Regions from separate parts of the Homo sapiens genome. Here region 1 is linked to region 2. The links are contacts of gene promoters, found by promoter capture Hi-C in human tissues and cell types (Jung and others, 2019). All regions are on one chromosome and are shown on one strand. The core of a region is centred on a gene start or on the middle of the fragment in contact, and the rest is flanking DNA. Distances in the headings are between cores, read along the strand shown.

Region 1 (4,774 bases), core at 283-2,782, 150 kb after region 2:
AAATAACAGCACATGCATACTCCTTAGGAATTGGAAGGTAAATGGCAGAAGAAATGGCTTAACAATTTGTACGTGGTTTCTTGTGACTTCTTATGACTGTATAAGACCAGGGAGCAATAGGGAGGGGAGGCACAAGGGATGCTATTTTGTTTCTATTACTATTTGATTTTGTAAAACTATACACATCAATTAAAATGATAAATATTATAGTTACAGTTTTCTTGTTTTTGTTTTTATTTTTAGAAAAAACAACAACAAAAGCAAGCACAAAAAACAGCAACAGCAAAAGGCTCTATTAGACATCATTATATCCATAGTACTATGTGCGGCACTGTGGGGGATTTTTTTAAATGTAAATAACCAGCAGGCTTATATATAATGCAGCAAGTGTGAAAAGCATCACAGGTCTAATAATAATGTATGTAGATGTCAGTAAAGTATACTTTTGCTTCTAGTGCTTCACTTGCCTCATGATATCCATCAAGCTTTTGAGAAGAAAGTACAGGATCTGTTAGGTTCTTTTTTTTTTTTTTTTTGAGATAGAGTCTTGCTCTGTCTCCCAGCCTGGAGTGCAATGGCGTGGTCTTGGCTCACTGTAACCTCCGCCTCCCGGGTTGAAGCAATTCTCCTGCCTTAGCCTCCCAAGTAGCTGGGACTACAGGCACGTGCCACCATACCTGGCTAATTTTTTGTGTTTTGTGTAGAGACGGGGTTTCACCATGTTGGTCAGGCTGGTCTTGATCTCCTGATCTCAGGTGATCTGCCCACCTCGGCCTCCGAAAGTACTGGGATTACAGGCGTGAGCCACCATGCCCAGCCAAGGATCTGTTAGGTTCTTAACCTAGCAGTTTACCAGATGCATTCCTTGATCAGCCTGCATGTGTCAAACCACTGAGTACCACATGTGTCCACAAAGACACCTCTGAGAGGGGCAGGCGCTGACAAGATCCTGGAGTCAGAGGCTGGGCTGGGCTGTTGCCTGATTGACTATGCGACCCTGGATGTGCCCATCCCCATGTGCTTTGAATTCATCATGGATCACATGAGGGAGTCCACAGAGTATGCCAGATCCTTTTTGGCATCTTTCCCCAAGTCTAAATTTCTTTAGTGTCATTCATTTTTCTGATTTTGTAATTGTTTTGAGTCTATTATTGCCTTATTTTTCTGATTTTAAAGCAATATAAGCTCATTGTCAAAATTTTGTAAAATCCAGAAAAGTATGATAAAGGGAATCAGCATGCTGAGCCCTACTATTCAGCAGCAACCACCAATAACATTTTGAGATACGTATTAACCTATGAGTGTTTATAAGTGTGAATTCTAGAGAGAATATGTAGTAGCCATGAAATCATGTTTTCAACAAATATTCCAGGATATGGGAAGGCACTCATGCTTTCATTTTGAGTATAATATACATTAGTTGTAGCGTGTGTTGTGGCTATATAGTATTCTGTCTTGTGAATGAGCTGTACCATATGCTGTGAATGAACCAAATCATTATTTTGGATGTTTCCATTTGTTTTCAGTGTTTTATTATTATTGTTGCTTTTTGAGACAGGGTCTTGCTCTGTTACTCAGGCTGGAATACAGTGGTGTGATCTGGCTCACTGCAGTCTCTGCCTTCCAGTCTCAAGCAATCCTCCCACCTCAGCCTCAAGAGTAGCTGGGACCACAGGCGTGCACCACCACACCCAGTTGAATTTTTTTTTTTTTTTTTTAAGTAGAGATGGAGCTCTACCATGTTGCCCAGACTGGTCTCAAACTCCTGAGCTCAAGCAATTCCCCCTCCTTGGCCTCCCAAAGTGCTGAGATTACAGTGTGTTATTATTATAAATAACATTGTAACAAACATCACTGAGCATCAATATATTTCTGTCTACTCATTCCCTAAGGATAAATTTCCAAATTAGAATTGTCAGGTCAAAGACTCTAACTATTCTTATCTTAGTCCTTTGATGCCCATTGCCAGATTCCTCCCAGGAAAGGTGGCATCATGTCACCACCCTAATACGATGAACGGGTGTGCCTGTTTTCTGCTCTACGTATGCCAAGTGTTTTCATTTTCAAAAATTTGCACAGCTGATGGATCGAAAATGGTAGCTCTTATTTTTATTGAGATTGAGGGTTTTTGTTGTTGTTGTTTAGTTTACTTTAGTTTTGTTTTTGAGATGGGGTCTCACTCTTGCCCAGGCTAGAGTGCAGTGGCATGATTATAGCTGACTGTAGCCTCAAACTCCTGGACTCAAGCCATCCTCCCACCTTAGCCTCTCAGGTAGCTGAGACTGCAGGCATGGCTAATTTTTTTATTTTTAGCTACCATGCCTGGCTAATTTTTTTCTGTACAGATGGGGTCTTGCTATATTGCCCAGGCTGCTCTTGAACCCCTGGCCTCAAGTGATCCTCTCTTCTTGGCCTCCCACACTGTGGGCATTACAGGCATGAGCCACTGTGCCTGGCTGAGATTGAGGTTTTAATCTTTTTGGCCACATATGTGTATTTTTAAGTAAATTTCCCATTCATGTCTTTTGACACTTTTTATATTGAGGTGTTATTCTCCTATTTCAAAAAAGCTCTTTTTACATCAAGTATAATAATGCTTACCTTATATAATATGTTTTAACTATCTTTCCCAGTTTGTTGCTATCCTGTTAAAAGGATTTTTTTTTGTTTTTAATGTAGAACCTTTCTTAATTTTTATATAATCATATCAACTAAGTTTTTCCTCTATAGTTTTTTTTTTTCCTTTTATTCTTGAAGGGATATTTTTCACCTTGAGATCAGGTAAACATTTACCTATATTTTCCTCTGGTTCTTCCCTGGTGTCACTCATATTGATTAATTGATCTGGAATTTACTGTAGGTATGGTCTATCTAACTTCATTTTTTGCACCTAGTTAGCCAATGTACGAATCCTTTTACTTATTTATTTTTAAATGTTAATGTATAAAAGTAAAAGTAAAATGTTAATGTATAAAAGTAAAGAGTCTAGTGTAAGTCATTTCCACGTACCTGTCACCCAGCTTAGTAATTATCGACTTATGGCCAATTGGGATTTATCTGTGTCCCCTTCCCCTCCTACACTGGATGTTTTTAAAGCAAATTTCAGGCATCATATAATTTTCACCCACAAATATTTCAGTATGAGCTCTAAGGACTCTCTTAAATAAAGACTCTTTTAAAGGCATAACTGCACTACCATTATCATACCTAACATAATATCCGGTCATTGTTCCAATTTCTCTGATTAATACTTTATTGACTTTAAAAAATTCTTTTACCACCAAATAAAACTGAAATTCTTGCAGTAAAAACAATTTAAAACTTAGGGTGATTAAAAACAGTTGGCAACCTGGTTGATGATGGGATGGGTCAAATCAGGGGGTACAAGAACGCAGAAGGCAAACAGTTGCGTAGGATCAGAGCCAGCACAGGCAAGGACCCAGCAGGGGGCAGTAGCAGGAGGTCCATGGAGCCCAGTGGTGTCTGATCCTGCAGGGAATTGGACGCAGAAAGCAGTGGCCCAGTGTGGGGCCAGAGTCAGGGCTCACTTCTCTGAAAGCACAGTTCCAGTCCTGGAGGAACTGTGGTAATAGGAAGGACATCAGACAGGGTCCTCCTTGTGATACCAAAGCTAGTGGTCTAGTTATTAGATGTGGACTGCAGTGCTGGGGCCTGTGCACAACTGGACAAAGCCTAACTCTGTTTATCAGAACCAGATTTCAACATCAGAGTTGAATGAGAAGCAAGACTGACCTAATGCTGACTGGGTAAGCTCTTGCTCTCTTTATGGACAGGATGATCTCAGAGTTGAAATGAGCCAAATATATCAAGTAGAGATAAGCACAGAGATTTCAGTGACCTGGACACATGACCCATAAAACTTTATCTTCATTAGTATTAATGTTCAGATCATAGTAAGTAGACTAGCCACTTTTGTCGGCTGAATCGCTTCAACCTCATCTGCCATTCTTCTTACTTTGTTCCAACTACATTGGCCACATTACTATTTCTGGATTTGGCTAGGCATGGTCCTGCTGTAAGATCCTCTTATCTGGTATTTTTCCAAATAGCCAAGTGACATAACTTCTCCTCTCCTTCAGATCTTTGCTAAAATGTTGCTTTCTCAATGAGGCCCTCCTTGTCTACCCTATCAAAAATCCTAACTCATGCTTCCTACACCCTTTCTTCTTTTGCTCCACAGCAGTGATCACATGTGGGATCAAATATTTTGCTTATTTGTTATAATAGTATATATTTTGCTTGTTTGTTCTTCCCTCTCCCCTGCCCAAATATAAATTCTGAGAGGACAGGATTTTCATGTGTTATTAACTGCTTTATCATCAGTGCTTAGAACTGTGCTTGGCATATAGTTAATTATCAAAAAAATGTTTGTTGAGTGAGGAAATGAATGAATGAGTTAAATGAATGGAGGCGGTTTGGAAAAGTTCATATGCAAGTATCTTATCAGTCAGGATTCCAAGAGGAAAAAGATGGAACACTGAAATGGGGTAATTAGGCAGAATGTAGGCTAAAGCATTATTTGCAAAGGTGCGGGCAGGGTTAAGGGGTGGTGCAGCAGCATTTCCGTCCCTAGGCCTGAATAGAAAAGAAAGAATAGTTGAGAATCTTAAGGGAGCAGTGGTCAGAGGGGGTCATATGACAGGCCTCCCAAAAAGGTACACGGTCCACCCGTGTTGACCCAGCAGGGATGGAGGCAGGAGAATAAACACCCATCCTCACTCTCCTCCTGCACTCTAACCTTGTGCTAGTGCCG
Region 2 (4,084 bases), core at 1,184-3,683:
CTTTCTCCCTGTAGGGTTCACTTTGGCAGATGACTCTTGGTTAGATGCAGGAGAAAATGACTTTCATGGCCGAGGGAAAGCACAGCTTCTTTCAGACCCCACAGCCACCCCAAATAGGTGAGAATAAATCTGTGCTGATCAACTGCCTGTATTGGATTCAATCAGAGACCTCAAATAAGAAAAAAAGGAGCTAGAGCCTCCCCAGACATCCCCCTTTTGGGGATTTTTTGCATGGGCCAATACAGCAAATGACACCAACCAGCTCTCAGGCCAGCTCTCAGCCCCTGTCGCCTGCCTGCCCCTCATTCCTGGAGTTTTTCCCTTGGCCTCGAAGTCTAGTTCAGAACTAGCCTTCCCTTCCCAGAGGGTCCCCTAAGCAGCGAGACAAAGGTCTTCTCGCGTTCTCTCACTCTCCCTACTCTGGGCCCCGAGTGTGGGCAGCAGCCAGGAGCTGACACAGGTGCCCAGAAGGTTCTGTAGCAGAGTGACTGCGCTCGCCAGGTCAGGGCTCCGGTGGAGATGGGGGAGAAGGCAGAGGCCCCACCACTTTCAGGGCTTTTCAGGGCCAGCAGCTCAGCATCCCTGGATATGAGGAGCCTTAGAGGCTCTCACTCACTTTGGCCCGGCCATGAACTTCTCAACGGCTGCCAGTTGAGGGTGTGCATGTCAGCCCTGTTCTGGGCAGAGCCCGGTGTTCACACTCAGTCTCCCTTGCTCTAAGGGGCTTCCACAGCCCTGGGCATACCCAGGAAGGCAGCCCAGATTTCCGTGGGCATCCCCACCCCACAGAGTCCCAGGCCCTTCTAACAGCAGGGAGGTAGGACTCAGGACTGGGGCTGACAGACATAGCAGGCCCTGTCACATCCCAGCCACCCAGGTCCCCACATGTAAACTGGCAGGACTGGACTTGGGGCCACAGCCCACTCTTAAGCACCACTGACCAGTCTTGAAGACCCAGTCTTAGAACCTGCAGGAGGATCTCCTCTCTGGAAGGAGAATCCCGGACCACCCACCACCACACACCCCTCTCTTTCCCCCGGCTGCTTGCTGCCGGTGGTTTGGGACTGGAGCCCCAGAGGGCATACAGCCCTGGCCAGCCCCGGGTCCAAACACATCCCACAGGCAAAGTCAGATGCAAGAGAACCTGTTGGAGCAGTTTGGGCAACACTGTCACCTCCTCTTCCTCCTCCTCCATTTACTTCTTGGTGGGAAGGGACCTGCCCTAGGCATGGGGCCAGGTCATGGCCATCGGCAAGGGCCAAGAGGGCGGGGGTTTTCAGTGTCTCCAAGCGTTACCTCCTTCCCCCCTCCCCATCTTCCTTAGGGAGCATAAGATCATGTCAAAACCGGCGTTCCTGCCGGGAACGGAGAGGAGAGAAACGGGGAAAACTGAAGGCCAGGGAGGAGGTGGCAAAGCCACAACAAACCCCCCTTACCCAACTCACAGACACTATTCTGTCACCGCACTCCTGCCCGCGGACCTGCAGGCCTGCCGGGTCTAGCTGCTCCGCGGGGGTCCGGGAGGGGTCCTGCCCTCGGGGACAAGGTCCAAGGGAGCTCGCCGGCCACGGCGGAGGGTGGGCGCGCCGGCTGCCACCTCGCCGGAGCCCCCACGGACTCCCCAGCCCTGCCGGAGTCGGAGCCCGCCACTCGCGCCTCTCCCGGGACCCGCGCCGGGCTGCGCGCCCGCTTCTCCCGGCCCGGCCAACCCCGAGCCCGCGCGGGGAAAGTTCCTGCAACTTCGCAGGGGGGAGGCGGCGGGGGCTCCGGGCCTCGGCCTCCCTCCGGATGCCCGGCCTCTGCGGCCGCCGCGACCCAGCTGACAGGCGGCCCGGCCCGGGCCTGGAGCCCCAACTTCCCCGCGCCCCGAGCCCCGAGCCCACCTCCCGGCCCGCGGGCCTCGCTTTGTGCGCGGCGGCCAGGGGCGCCCAGCGCGGGCCCCGTGCTTGGCGCCCCCGCCCTGGGCACAAAAGGGCGCGCGGCCCGGCACGGCCCAGCCCCGACCGGGGCGCCCGGAATGCGGCGGCGGCGGCGGCGGCCCGTCCCCGAGCCGGGCCTGCGGGCGCGCAGCCGGGGGCGCGGGGCTCGGTCGGGCAAGGTGGCCGGGCCGGGCCGGGCCGAGCCGAGCAGCCGCCGCGCGCTCACCTGCCGTGGAACCAGTCCTTGCAGGCGTCGCACTCGATCATGAAGCGGGTAACGTCGTAGGGGAGCCGGCAGACGCAGTACACGGGCACCGTCGCCATGTTGCCGCGCCGCGCCGCCGCTCGGCCCCGCCGCTGCGCTGCCCGGGTCGGTCCGGGCCGGGCCGGGGGCCGGGCCGCGCGGGGGCGGCGGGGGCGGCGGGGCGCAGGCGGCGCCGCGGCCGGGAGGGGACGGGGACGGGGGCGCACGACAGCCCCCGCGCGCGCTCCCGGCCAGGCGCGTCCACACAATGCCGGGCGCGCTGGCTGGAGGGGCCGCGCCGGGAGCCGCCCGCCGGCCCGCGGGGCTCAGGGCGCTAGTGTGCGCGGGGGACGGGCCGCGCGCGGGACACAAAAGGGAATGGACGCGCGGGGGCGGCGGGCGGGGAGCCGCGGCCCCACCGAAGGGACCCCCGGCCGCCGAGCGGCCTCTACGTCAGCGCCCCGGGTGGCGCCGCCTCCGCCCGCCGGCCTGGGCCGCCGCTCCCGCCGCCGGGAAGGCGGGCTGGGGAACCCTGCGGGGGAGAAGGTGGGTTGGGGGACCCTGCCGGGGGAGAAGACGGCCGGGGGGACCCTGCCGGGGGAGAAGGCGGGTGGGGGGATCTCGAAGGTGGAAGATAGGCCGAGAAGGGCCCCCAAGGCTGAAGGTAGACCCAGGGGTCCGCGGGCGCGAAGGTGAGCTGGGGGAGCCTTGAGACTGAAAGTGGGGTGGGACCCCGGGGAGAAGGTGGGCGGGACCCCGAGGATAAGATAAGTTGGGGGAACCCGGGCAAGGCAGAAGGAGAGACGCGGGGTGCGGGAGTGGAGCCCGCAGGAGAGCCTTCCTAGTCTAGAAGGCCGACAAGCAAATACTTGGCCCTAACTTTCTTCTGACCCCCACCACGGTGGGGGTGTTCCTCCTCCTCGGCCGCGCTGCCTCCCTCCGTTCCCCACTGAGTTTCTGGTTGGGACACCACTTCCTCTTTCCCCTCATTTTCGGCTGGGGACTGCCGCCTCCCTCGCAGGATCCCGCGGACTTCCCTGATGCTCAGCCCCAGAGGAAGAGGACAGAAGCCCGGGCCGGGAGTGCGCTGGCACGGGCTGGTCAGCTCTGTTCCCTGGCATTTGAGCCCCCCAGGCCCGTGACCTAAGGGGCCGGGCTGGTCAGCTCTGTCAAGAGAGAGCTCCCTGGCATTTGAGCCCCCCAGGCCCGTGACCTAAGGGGCGAGGAGTATGGGAACCCTGGCCCCCGTGTCCAGGGAACTGAGCCCCCACGGTGGGGAGGAGAAGCGGAGGTGCGCTCTGAGGGGTCACTTGCACGCGTTCTAGAGGAGGACTTCCCTGCCTCGCCAGCGCTGCATCCTTGGGGCATCCGCGCTGGGCAGGGGCCACATCCCTGCCCGCCCTTCCTCCCTCACCCTCTTTCTCTCCCCATCCTCCCTCAGCAAAATCCGCATCGTGCTGGGAAATGTGGGCCACCCCTGCTCGGAATTCCAGAATCTCCGGACAGGAAACCTGGCTCAGTCTCCTAGCAGCATCCATGACAAGGCTCCTTAGCCCCTCAGCCCCTCACCATCACCGCCCACCTGCAGCTGCCAAGGGGCCGTTTGCTCCACCGCAGGCGGCTCAATTAAGGTCCTTCCTCCTACTGAGCCAAAATCTACCCTCAGAGTCAGCCACCCACCCCCAACAAGTGACCCCGTGGATACAGACTCAGGGCAGTGCCCAAAGCACTGGGCACTGGGGAAGGGGGCGGGGGGAGAAGTAGCTGGCCATAGAGGGAGAGGAAAGAGCAGGAGACCCCCAGCTCCCACACCTCTGGACTGGCCAGGATGGCCTGCAATAGGCCTTCCTACCTGAATTCCGGTTGTCACTGGTTCCCTTCCTCCTGGGTGAAAGCCTGGAATTTTTTTTTTTTTTTTTTT

The links. The method cuts DNA at HindIII sites, captures the fragments that hold promoters and counts their contacts. A contact is called where the count stands out against the background at its distance.
Region 1: a contact is called between a fragment that was not itself captured here and the fragment with the promoter of PHF2 in region 2, in 1 of the 25 tissues and cell types used here (spleen).

Annotation. Positions count from the first base shown.
Region 1 is chr9:93,426,852-93,431,625 of GRCh38, reverse strand. LOC107987097 (a long non-coding RNA gene) reads left to right here. Exons shown (of 2, transcript XR_007061670.1): 2 at 1-215. Among named protein-coding and RNA genes, the nearest start is that of FAM120A, 22 kb to the left of the region's middle. The HindIII fragment of the contact is 9,352 bases long and covers 1-4,774 here.
Region 2 is chr9:93,574,933-93,579,016 of GRCh38, reverse strand. PHF2 (PHD finger protein 2) reads right to left here and starts at 2,433. Exons shown (of 22, transcript NM_005392.4): 1 at 2,146-2,433. The coding sequence starts at 2,243. RefSeq lists enhancers at 644-793, 2,975-3,254, 2,936-3,530, 3,531-4,084 and silencers at 1,655-1,814, 2,405-2,704, 2,815-2,874. The HindIII fragment of the contact is 6,548 bases long and covers 1-3,569 here.